Regions from separate parts of the Homo sapiens genome. Here region 2 is linked to region 1. The links are contacts of gene promoters, found by promoter capture Hi-C in blood cells and fetal thymus (Javierre and others, 2016). All regions are on one chromosome and are shown on one strand. The core of a region is centred on a gene start or on the middle of the fragment in contact, and the rest is flanking DNA. Distances in the headings are between cores, read along the strand shown.

What was found. Contacts are between HindIII fragments. The CHiCAGO score rates a contact against its expected background, and 5 or more counts as called.
Region 2: a contact is called between a fragment that was not itself captured here and the fragment with the promoter of DCXR in region 1, in 2 of 17 cell types (non-activated CD4 T cells and total CD8 T cells). The highest score is 7.3, in non-activated CD4 T cells.

What each region holds. Positions count from the first base shown.
Region 1 is chr17:82,036,346-82,038,946 of GRCh38, forward strand. DCXR (dicarbonyl and L-xylulose reductase) reads right to left here and starts at 1,352. Exons shown (of 8, transcript NM_016286.4): 1 at 1,286-1,352; 2 at 1,105-1,202; 3 at 514-668; 4 at 376-418; 5 at 199-298; 6 at 39-103. The coding sequence starts at 1,337. It overlaps DCXR-DT (DCXR divergent transcript), which reads left to right and starts at 1,573. Exons shown (of 2, transcript NR_159948.1): 1 at 1,573-1,923. RefSeq lists a silencer at 743-1,572. The HindIII fragment of the contact is 4,930 bases long and covers 1-2,601 here.
Region 2 is chr17:82,405,874-82,412,536 of GRCh38, forward strand. It overlaps OGFOD3 (2-oxoglutarate and iron dependent oxygenase domain containing 3), which reads right to left. Exons shown (of 9, transcript NM_024648.3): 3 at 5,582-5,657; 4 at 3,495-3,537; 5 at 545-609. Among named protein-coding and RNA genes, the nearest start is that of HEXD, 9.1 kb to the right of the region's middle. The HindIII fragment of the contact is 3,878 bases long and covers 311-4,188 here.

The sequences.
Region 1 (2,601 bases), core at 102-2,601:
GTGTCCTAGGTTGGGGGAGGTACCCCAGCCCTGCTCACCTTGTGGGGCCCGAGCTCTAGGGCCATCACCTTGGTCAGCATGTCCAGGGCACCCTTGGTGGAGCCTACGAAGAGGAACCCAAGCTGGCTGGGGCTGGGGTCGGTGATGAGGGCGAGGCTGGGGCTGGGGTGGGGCTGAGGGCACAGCTGGGGCACTCACAGTAGACGCTATGGTTAGTTACTGCCCGCTGGGAGCACTGGCTGGAGACATTCACGATGGCCCCTGGGACTCCCCGGGCTATTAAGCCCCTGGCCACAATCTGGAATCGCAGCGAGACCGTGAGGCAGAGCTGGCATCACTCACGAGAATTCCCGTCCAGCCCACAGGGCAGCTCACCTGCGACACCTGGATGACCGCACGCAGGTTCACCTCAAAGGATCTAGAGGCCGAGGGACAGACCCTGGTCAGAGATTAGGGCTGCTGCGTCCTCCAGGACAGCCCCTCCCTGAGGTTCCTCCGCCCTCACAGGCTCACCTGTCAAAGGCCTCCTTGGTGACCTCCAGGAAGGGCTGCAGCAGGGCGACAGCGGCGTTGTTCACCAGCAGGTCCACGGGGCCCACGCTGCCCAGCGCCCGCTCGGTGGCCTCCCAGTCACCCAGGTCCACGCACACGGGTTCTATCCCCGGGCACTGTGTGTATCAGGGGGCAGTTACCAGAGGCTCTGTGCCCAGCAAGCGGCACAGCTGGGGACTGGGGCTGGTGACCTTTCAGCCGGACAAGTAAAGGAGTTAGGAGTTCCGAAGGTGTCGGGACTGTGGGGCCAGCAGCCGGGCGCTACCTCCGGCCGGTTCACTTCCTCCCTGCGCCCGAGCGACTCCTGCCCGGGGCCTGCTTCGCAGCCATTTCGGCCTCTTTCTGAGCCCGGGGGCCCCGGCGGCTCTGCCGACCACCCGGCCGCCCACGCAGGCCACCAGCCCCGAGAGAGGGTGCGCGGGCGCCCAGGCCGCGGTGAGAAGCGCAGCGCCCGCGAGGGGAGGCGGAGTCGCGCACAGAGGTACCGCCCCCGCTCGCTGCCGCCCCCTCCTGGCTCGCCGCCTCGCAGCGCTGGGACCCGGCGGGACCTACCTCGCGGACAAGGCTGTCAAGATCCGCCTGAGTCCGGCTCACAGCCACCACCCGCGCGCCCGTCGCGTGCAGCGCCTGGACCGTGCCGCGCCCTATACCTGCCGGGAGCGGGCTCAGTGAAGGCGTCCCCTGCCCGCCTCTGCCCGCCGCCGGCCTTTGCCCACCTTTCCCCGCCGCCCACCTTTGCCTGCCCCGGTGACCAGCACCCGGCGGCCCGCGAGGAACAGCTCCATGTCGGCGCAGTCTCCGCCCTCCGCACTGGGGCTGCGGAACTTGAAGCTCTGGCCACGATGGGCGGGGCGCGGCGGGGCCAATGGCAGGGCGGCCTTCAGATAGGCGGTGGGGACATTCAAATAGCTGCTCCCCGCTGCAGTGATTGGCCGAAAGGAGTGGGCGCGCCGGGGCGGGGCGGGGTCTCCGCTGCCTCAGGGACGGGTCTTTTGAAGTGCCTGGTGTGACCCATCTTCCGTGCTTGAAATCGACGTAGTGGACCCTGGCTAGCATATTTTTCCCTGCCAAGATTATTGCAAAAAGACGATGTGGTGGTTAATATCGGAAAGAATGTGTGGTTAATATCAGGAAGAACACGTGAAATGGAGAATTTCAGGGCTAACATTTCTTGTTTTGTTTCTGAAAACATCGGCATGTCCTAAAAAGTGTCGCCTGTGCCCATCATCTCTCAGGCTTGGGAGCAGGACACCGCCGGCTCACTTTAAAGCCAAGGGAAAGAATTTGGACAACCAACTACGTCTGGAGAAGACACCAATGTCAGCAGAGCTCCGCTTTCATCTGTGGGCGAAGGATTACCTAGATGCCAAGGCAAGAGACTGAAGACACAAACTGTTTCAGTATAACAAAGAAAATAGGCCGGGAGCGGTGGCTCACGCCTGTAATCCCAGCACTTTGGGAGGCCGAGGCGGGTGGATCACGAGGTCAGGAGATCGAGACCATCCTGGCTAACACGGTGAAACCCCATCTCTACTAAAAATACAAAAAATTAGCCGGGCGCGGTGGCGGGCACCTGTAGTCCCAGCTACTCAGGAGGCTGAGGCAGGAGAATGGCGCGAACCCAGGAGGCGGAGCTTGCAGTGAGCCGAGATTGCGCCACTGCACTCCAGCCTGGGCGACAGAGCAAGACTCCATCTTTAAAAAAAAAACAGTTAAAATAAAAATAGTCATAATACAAATTAGATATAAAAATGATCATGATCATGGATAATTATCAATCATTAGTATAAACATTATTAATCATTAGCTTTTAATATTACTCTTTGTTGCATTACTAATATAACCTAGGGACATTGTGAGAAGTGACCTAGAAGGCAAGAGGTGAGCCCTCTGTCACTCCCGCATAAGGGCTGCTTGAGGGCTCCTTGGTCAAGCAGTAATGCCGTTGTCTGGGAAGCCACCCGTTACTTAGAAGACTGCGAAGGGGAGTCTCCTTTCCTTGGAGGCGTCAGGGAACACTCTGCTCCACCAGCTTCTTGTGGGAGGCTG
Region 2 (6,663 bases), core at 1,000-3,499, 370 kb after region 1:
CAGGAGGCAGAGTCAAATGAGTCGAAATTGCGCCACTGCACTCCAGCCTAGGCGACAGAGCAAGATTCCATCTCAAAATAATAATAATAATAATAAAAACAAGGAGCCAGCCGGGAGCAAGACCCAGGGCTAATGCATGAGGCTGACACGGATCCACGCAGGGAGGGTCTCTTTGCTCTCCCGGCCCCTCATGGAGCGTCAAAGGCCCCGTTGGATTCTTGGAAGCTGCTCCTGGGAGCCTCCCATCTCTGCTGCCTCTTGCTCCCATCCCTTCTGTCCCTGGGCCCACAAAAACACCAGATTCCCCTAAAGCTTCATGAACAAGCCCCCTGCCCACAGGCTGTGGAGAGTCCACACCTCCCAGCTCTTGCGTCCCAAAGAACCAGGAAGGACCCGGCCAACATCACAGCCACTGAGGCCCTGAGGCTGCACCGAGCCGGATCCTCCCTCACATGTCCACGTGTCCACATGTCCATGGCTAAGAGGCACGGAGCCGCTCACTCGGCTTTCAGAGCCAGCACTGAGGTCATGCTGCAGCACTCACCTGTACAGGTTCACAAAGTGCTTCCCGACAGACAGGGCCCCTGAGTGCAAGTCCAGAATGGATGCCTGGAAAAGACGTTGTGGAGTAAAGCGTGCAGCCGCAGCAATGGCAATGGCTGTTAAAAGTCATGGATGGTAAATGCGAGTTTCCAAGGTCTGGCCAGCACACACCTCAGGTGTTTTTTTGTTTTTGTTTTTGTTTTTTGTAAAAAGGATCTTATTCTGTTGCCCAGGCTAGGGCGCAGTGGCACAATCTCAGCTCATTGCAGCCTCAATATTCCAGGCTCCAGGCCAAACAATCCTCCCACCCTCTGCCTCCCAAGTAAAGGCGCTCGCCACCACACCTGGCTAATTTTTCTATTTTTTGTAGAGATGTGGTCTCACTATATTACCTAGGCTGGTCTCGAACTCCGGGGCTCAAGTGATCCTCCCACCTCAGCCTCCCAAAGTACTGGGATTACAGGCATTAGCCACTGCACCCAGCCTCAACCCAGGACTTTCTTAAAATCCTCCCAGACCGGCCAGACGTGGTGGCTCACACCTGCAATCCCAGCACTTTGGGAGGCTGAGACAGGTGGATTGCTTGAGGCCAGGAGTTCAAAACCAGCCTGGCTAACATGGTGAAACCCCATGTCTACTAAAAATACAAAATTAGCTGGGCATGGTGGCGAGCTGTAATCCCAGCTGTAGCTGGGACACCTACAGAGATAGCCTCCCAAGGAGCTGTAATCCCAGCTACTTGGGAGGCTGAGGCAGGAGAATCACTTGAATCAGGGAGGCGGAGGTTGCAGCGAGCCGAGATCGTGCCATTGCACTCCAGCCTGGGCTACAAGAGCGAAACTCCATCTCAAAAAAAAAAAAAAATCTTCCTGGACCAAACACTTTTGTTCCCTGTGACCTAAAGAATGGTGGCACGTGTGGGCTATTTTTAGTCTGGAGCCATCTCCGTGCAGCTCCGTGCCAGTCACAGTCATGTGTCCCTGTGGGCAAGTGTTGACTTCTCTCGAGTAAATGCCTCACAGCGGTGCTCCCACCTTGGCCTCCTGGGCGGCTGGCACCACAGTGCGCGCCACGCCAAGCCTGAGTCATCACTTTGTAAGCCACTGCTGAAGTGTTTCCTGCCCGACCACCCACCTCTCAGTCCTTCCCTACGTCCTCAGAGGAAGAGGCTTCCAGCCCACGTTAGTCATCCCACCTGTGACCCCAGAGGAGCCCCACTGCTGCCCCTTCCTCATCGCCACAGCCACTGGCCCTGCGGCACTAACCTAGCTTGGGCCCGCTGAACAGTAACTGAACCCAAAGCAGCGGCCCAGCCAGCTCCATGCAGGACAACTTCCCATGTGAACGTGGAGGAGCTGTGAAACAGAAACCTACTCACTCACAGATCTTTAACAAATAGCCCCCGAACTGAACCAAACCAAACTGAAATAAAGGGAGGAACTTAGGCCGGGCACGGTGGTTCACACCTGTAATCCCAGCACTTTGGGGGGTCAAGGCAGGTGGGTCACCTGAGCTCTGGAGTTCAAGACCAGCCTGGCCAACATGGTGAAACCTCATCTCTATTTAAAATGCAAAAATTAGCCGGGCATCATGGCACATGCCTGTAGTCCCAGCTACTCAGGAGGCTAAGGCAGAAGAATGGCTTGAACCCAGGAGTTGGAGGTTGCAGTGAGTGGAGATCGCCCCATTGCACTCCAGCCTGGGCAACAGAGCGAGACTCTGTCTCAAAAAAAGAAGAAAAAAAGGAACTTAATTTTCAGAACTCAAGAGAAAAGAGTTTGCAGAAAAAAGTCACACAGACCATCACAGAAATACTTTGAAATTCTCAAAGAGTCTATAAATTAATTTTCTAGAAGTTTCAAATATGCAGAAAGACTCAAGTCTATTCAGTGATTATAATTCAAAGCGATCACCAAATAAACAGAGAGAAACAGATCTTCAGACAATTCCACACACCGAGCAAGAAAACAACCCTGAGGAAACCGCATGGGAATTGGAGCTAACACCAGCTGCACCAGACTGACTCCCAGCCACTGCCCAACAGGAGGGCGAGGCCACAGCCGGCGGTGGCTCCATGATCCCTGCGGCTGTGGTAACACAAACTGGGGCTTTAAAACAACACAAGTTTATTCTCTCACAGTTCTAGAGCCCAGGAGTCTAAAATCGAGGTGTGGGAGGGGCCCTGCTCCCTCCCAGGGCTCCAGGGGAGGTCCTGCCCGCCTCTTCCATGGCCGCACTGCTCCCATCTCTGCCTCCATCATCACAGGACCTTTTCCTCCTCCCTCTCAAATCTCCCCCTGCCTCTGTCTCCTATAGGCACTTGCCATTGGATTTAGGACCCTAAATCTGGGATGATGTCATCTTGAGATCCTTAAGTTAATTACATCTGCAAAGGTCCCTTTTCCAAATCAGATCATGTCCACGGGCTCCAGGTGAACACATTATCCGAGGCCACTAGCTGACCCCCTGCAGCCTCACATGGGACGACAGCCCCACAGGGCGTCCATGGAGGCGTCCAGCTAGGAAGTTGCAGGATGCGTTGCAGCGTGTCTGTCCCACGGAGGCCCTGCTGTTTCCCGGCAGCTCCACGGGCTCTCCTGTGTCCAGCATGCGCAGCCGTCTCCTCGCTGGGCTCCCACCCCGCTCCCTTGCCGGCTCCCTGCTTCCGACCCCCTCTATCCCCCAGTGTGAACTGGAGCCAGGCAGGCCGTGACATGCCATGAATAGATGGCCACGCACATCTAAGGACACACTCTTCCCAACGAGGGGACGCCGCACGGGTTTCAGTCAGGCGCAGCTGCTGCGGCTGGTGCTGAGAAACACCACGGCAGGCCCCACCCACATTTGGGGGCACGCAGGGAACCCTGCATGTCTGTGCCTTCCCCTTCCCATCCAAGTGAGAGCAAAGTTAACGGGTAAAAAAAGGGGGGCAGGGACTACATTCAACTCACCCCTCCGTCAGATCCTCCCAGGGAGAGCCCCTTTTCAGCTACGCTGCAGGGAGAAAATAATTCAGAATTTCGTTGCTAGAATTGTCTATAATGTATAATCTAGGCAAACGTCAATCAGCAAAATTAATGCAACATTAGTGGGTCCTGCGTGTTTAATGTTTATGATGTAAACAAATGTTTAGACCAAAGGACTCAACTTTCAAAGTTCAGTGCGTAAGCGACAATACTGCCATCGTTGTCTTGTCAATATTTGACTCAGCTTAGAAACGACTGGGCTTCAGCACCTTGGGAGGCCAAGGCGGGTGGATCACGAGGTCAGGAGTTCCAGACCAGCCTGGCCAACATGGTGAAACCTCGTCTCAACTAAAAATACAAAAATTAGCCAGCTGTGATGGCAGGTGCCTGTAATCCCAGCTACTCTGGAGGCTGAGCCAGGAGAATCGCTTGAACCCAGAAGGCAGAGGTTGCAGTGAGCCGAGATCGCGCCACTGCACTCCAGCCTGGACAACAAAGCAAGACTCTGTCAAGAAAGAAAGAAAAAGAGAGAGAGAGAGAGAGAGAGAAAGGGAGGGCTGGGCTTAATCTCTCATCTTCAATATCGAAAGCCACCTGGGCCAAGCTCAGGAGCCTGGGGAGCATCTAGGGGAGGGCCCACTGCTCCCCATCTCTCCTGGAACCCCAGGCAGGTGGGGGAAGCTTTGAGATTCACCAGCTCAGGAGATAGGGGCCCTGACCATGGTGGGAGAAAGACACCCACACGCCAGCTGTGCTGGACCACAGAGGACCACCCTGAGCTGCCACAGGTGCTGGGAGCTGCCTGTGGACACCAAGTGGGGACACGCCGGTGCCTCAGTCAGACAGCAGTAACCCCACTGGAGCTAGGCAGCAGTAACCCTGCGTGGAGCTAGGCAGCATCCTCGGGGGCAGGCTCCCTGGGGAGAATCTCAGGGCAGGGCACGTGGCCCAGGGCTGCACACCATTCCACATGCTTATCGTCTCAACAAGTGGTTGGAAAATCAAAACTTTCTTTTAAGATCTCAGTAAGAAAAGTCCAGCACCAGTAGCCTCTGAGTGGCATCCTGTGCTGCCACAAGTCATAGCCAGGTGGGCTGACGGGCTCCCTGGAGGCAGTTTCAGAGCAGACACTGAGCGGTCATTGAGCAGTGTCCCGGAGGCTCCGTGGGGAGCATGGGGCACTCAGCAGCAGCCCCCAGAGGCGGCCACAACCCCTGCAGAGGAACCTGGGCCTCTGGGTACTCTCCCAGCTACTGCTTCGCTGAGGGCCATGGTCTCCTCTCCTGAAATCGGAAAATCTGAGCTTGGCCCTTGAAAGCACATAATTCTTTTTTTTTTTTTTTTTTTTTTTTTTGAGATGGAGTCTCACTCTGTCACCCAGGCTGGAATGCAATGGCTCAATCTCGGCTCACTGCAATCCCTGCCTCCCAGGTTCAAGCAATTCTCCTGTCTCAGCCTCCTGAGTAGCTGGGATTACAGGAGTGTGCCATCACACTCGGCTAATTTTTCATATTTTAGTAGAGACAGGGGTTTCACCATGTTGCCCAGGCTGGTGTCGATCTCCTGAGCTCAGGCAATCCACCCGCCTTGGCCTCCCCAAGTGCTAGGATTACAGGCATGAGCCACCGCACCCAGCCTGGAAATTCTTATAAAATTATAATAAAATCTTTTTTTTTTTTTTGGAGATAGAATCTCGCTCTGTCGCCCAGGATGGAGTGCAGTGGTGCAGTCTTGGCTCACTGCAACCTCTGCCTCCCGGGTTCCAGCGATTCTCCTGCCTCAGCCTCCTGAGTAGCTGGGACTACAGGCACATGCCACCACACCCAGCTAATTTATTGTATTTTAGTAGAGACAGGGTTTCACCATGTTGCCCAGGCTGGTCTCGAACTCCTGAACTCAGGCAATCTGCCCGCCTCAGCCTCCCCAAGTGCTGGGATTACAGGCGTGAGCCACCACGCCTGGCAATAAAATCCTTAAAACCACTTTATTACTAACAATGCTCTGCTTCCCGCCCTAGCCCCACTCCGCGTGTGTTTGTTTGAATCCCACCGTGCTCAGGGACAGGCGGTTACCTGCGAATCCGCTCCGCTTCCTCCCTGGTGATGACGACATCGGTGACACCTCTGCCGCACTTTCGGGGAGTGCAGCCTGTGAAGGGACAGCCAGGGTGAGACGCAGTTTCCAAGGCCACCGGCGCATGCCCTTCCAGGGAATCAGGGCCAGAACTGGCTAATACGCCCGGTCAAATGTGAATTTCAGACACACACAACCACAGCTCTCCAGCGTGCATGCGCTTTGTGCGGTGCATCTGGAGTTCACGTCTCACTGGGCCACCTTGGCTTCCAGTGGCTCCAACTGGAAATTTAATCCAGAGGCACCTGTTGCTGCCCCAAACCCTGGGAAAGTCACAGAAACCCCAGACACGGCGTCAACAGCATTCCTGAACCATCACTGACTGCAGGTCCAGACACCCACAGGCACCGTCAGAAAACCCTTCTGAGACCACCAGAGCAGAAAACCCTCCTGAGACCGCCAGAGAGGAAAACCCTCCTGAGACCACCAGGGAGGAAAACCCTCCTGAGGCCACCAGAGGGGGGAACCCTCCTGAGACCACCAGAGCAGAAAACCCTCCTGAGACCACCAGAGAGGAAGACCCTCCTGGGACCACTGGCGCAGAAAACCCTCCTGAGACCGCCAGAGAGGAAAACCCTCCTGAGACCACTGGAGCAGAAAACCCTCCTGAGACCACCAGAGTGGAGCTTGTGGGTCTAGTCCCAGTCCTTCCCCAGGGCACAGCGAACTGCTCCGCACATGCCCCTGTCTCTCCCCGTACCTTGGTGACCTGCGGAGGCTGAGAGGGAAGAGGAAGCAGCAGCTCAAATGGGGGTCAGGGTGGTCGGGGCAGGGGCAGGGTCGTTGGGACAGGAGCAACACGGTCGGGGCAGGGGCATGGTTATCGGGGCAGGGGCATGGTTATCGGGGCAGGGGCATGGTTATCGGGGCAGGGGCATGGTTATCGGGGCAGGGGCATGGTTATCGGGGCAGGGGCATGGTTATCGGGGCAGGGGCATGGTTATCGGGGCAGGGGCAAGGTCGTTTGGGGCAGCGGCAGTGTCGTTGGGACAGGATCAGAGTGGACAGGAGTCAGGGTCAT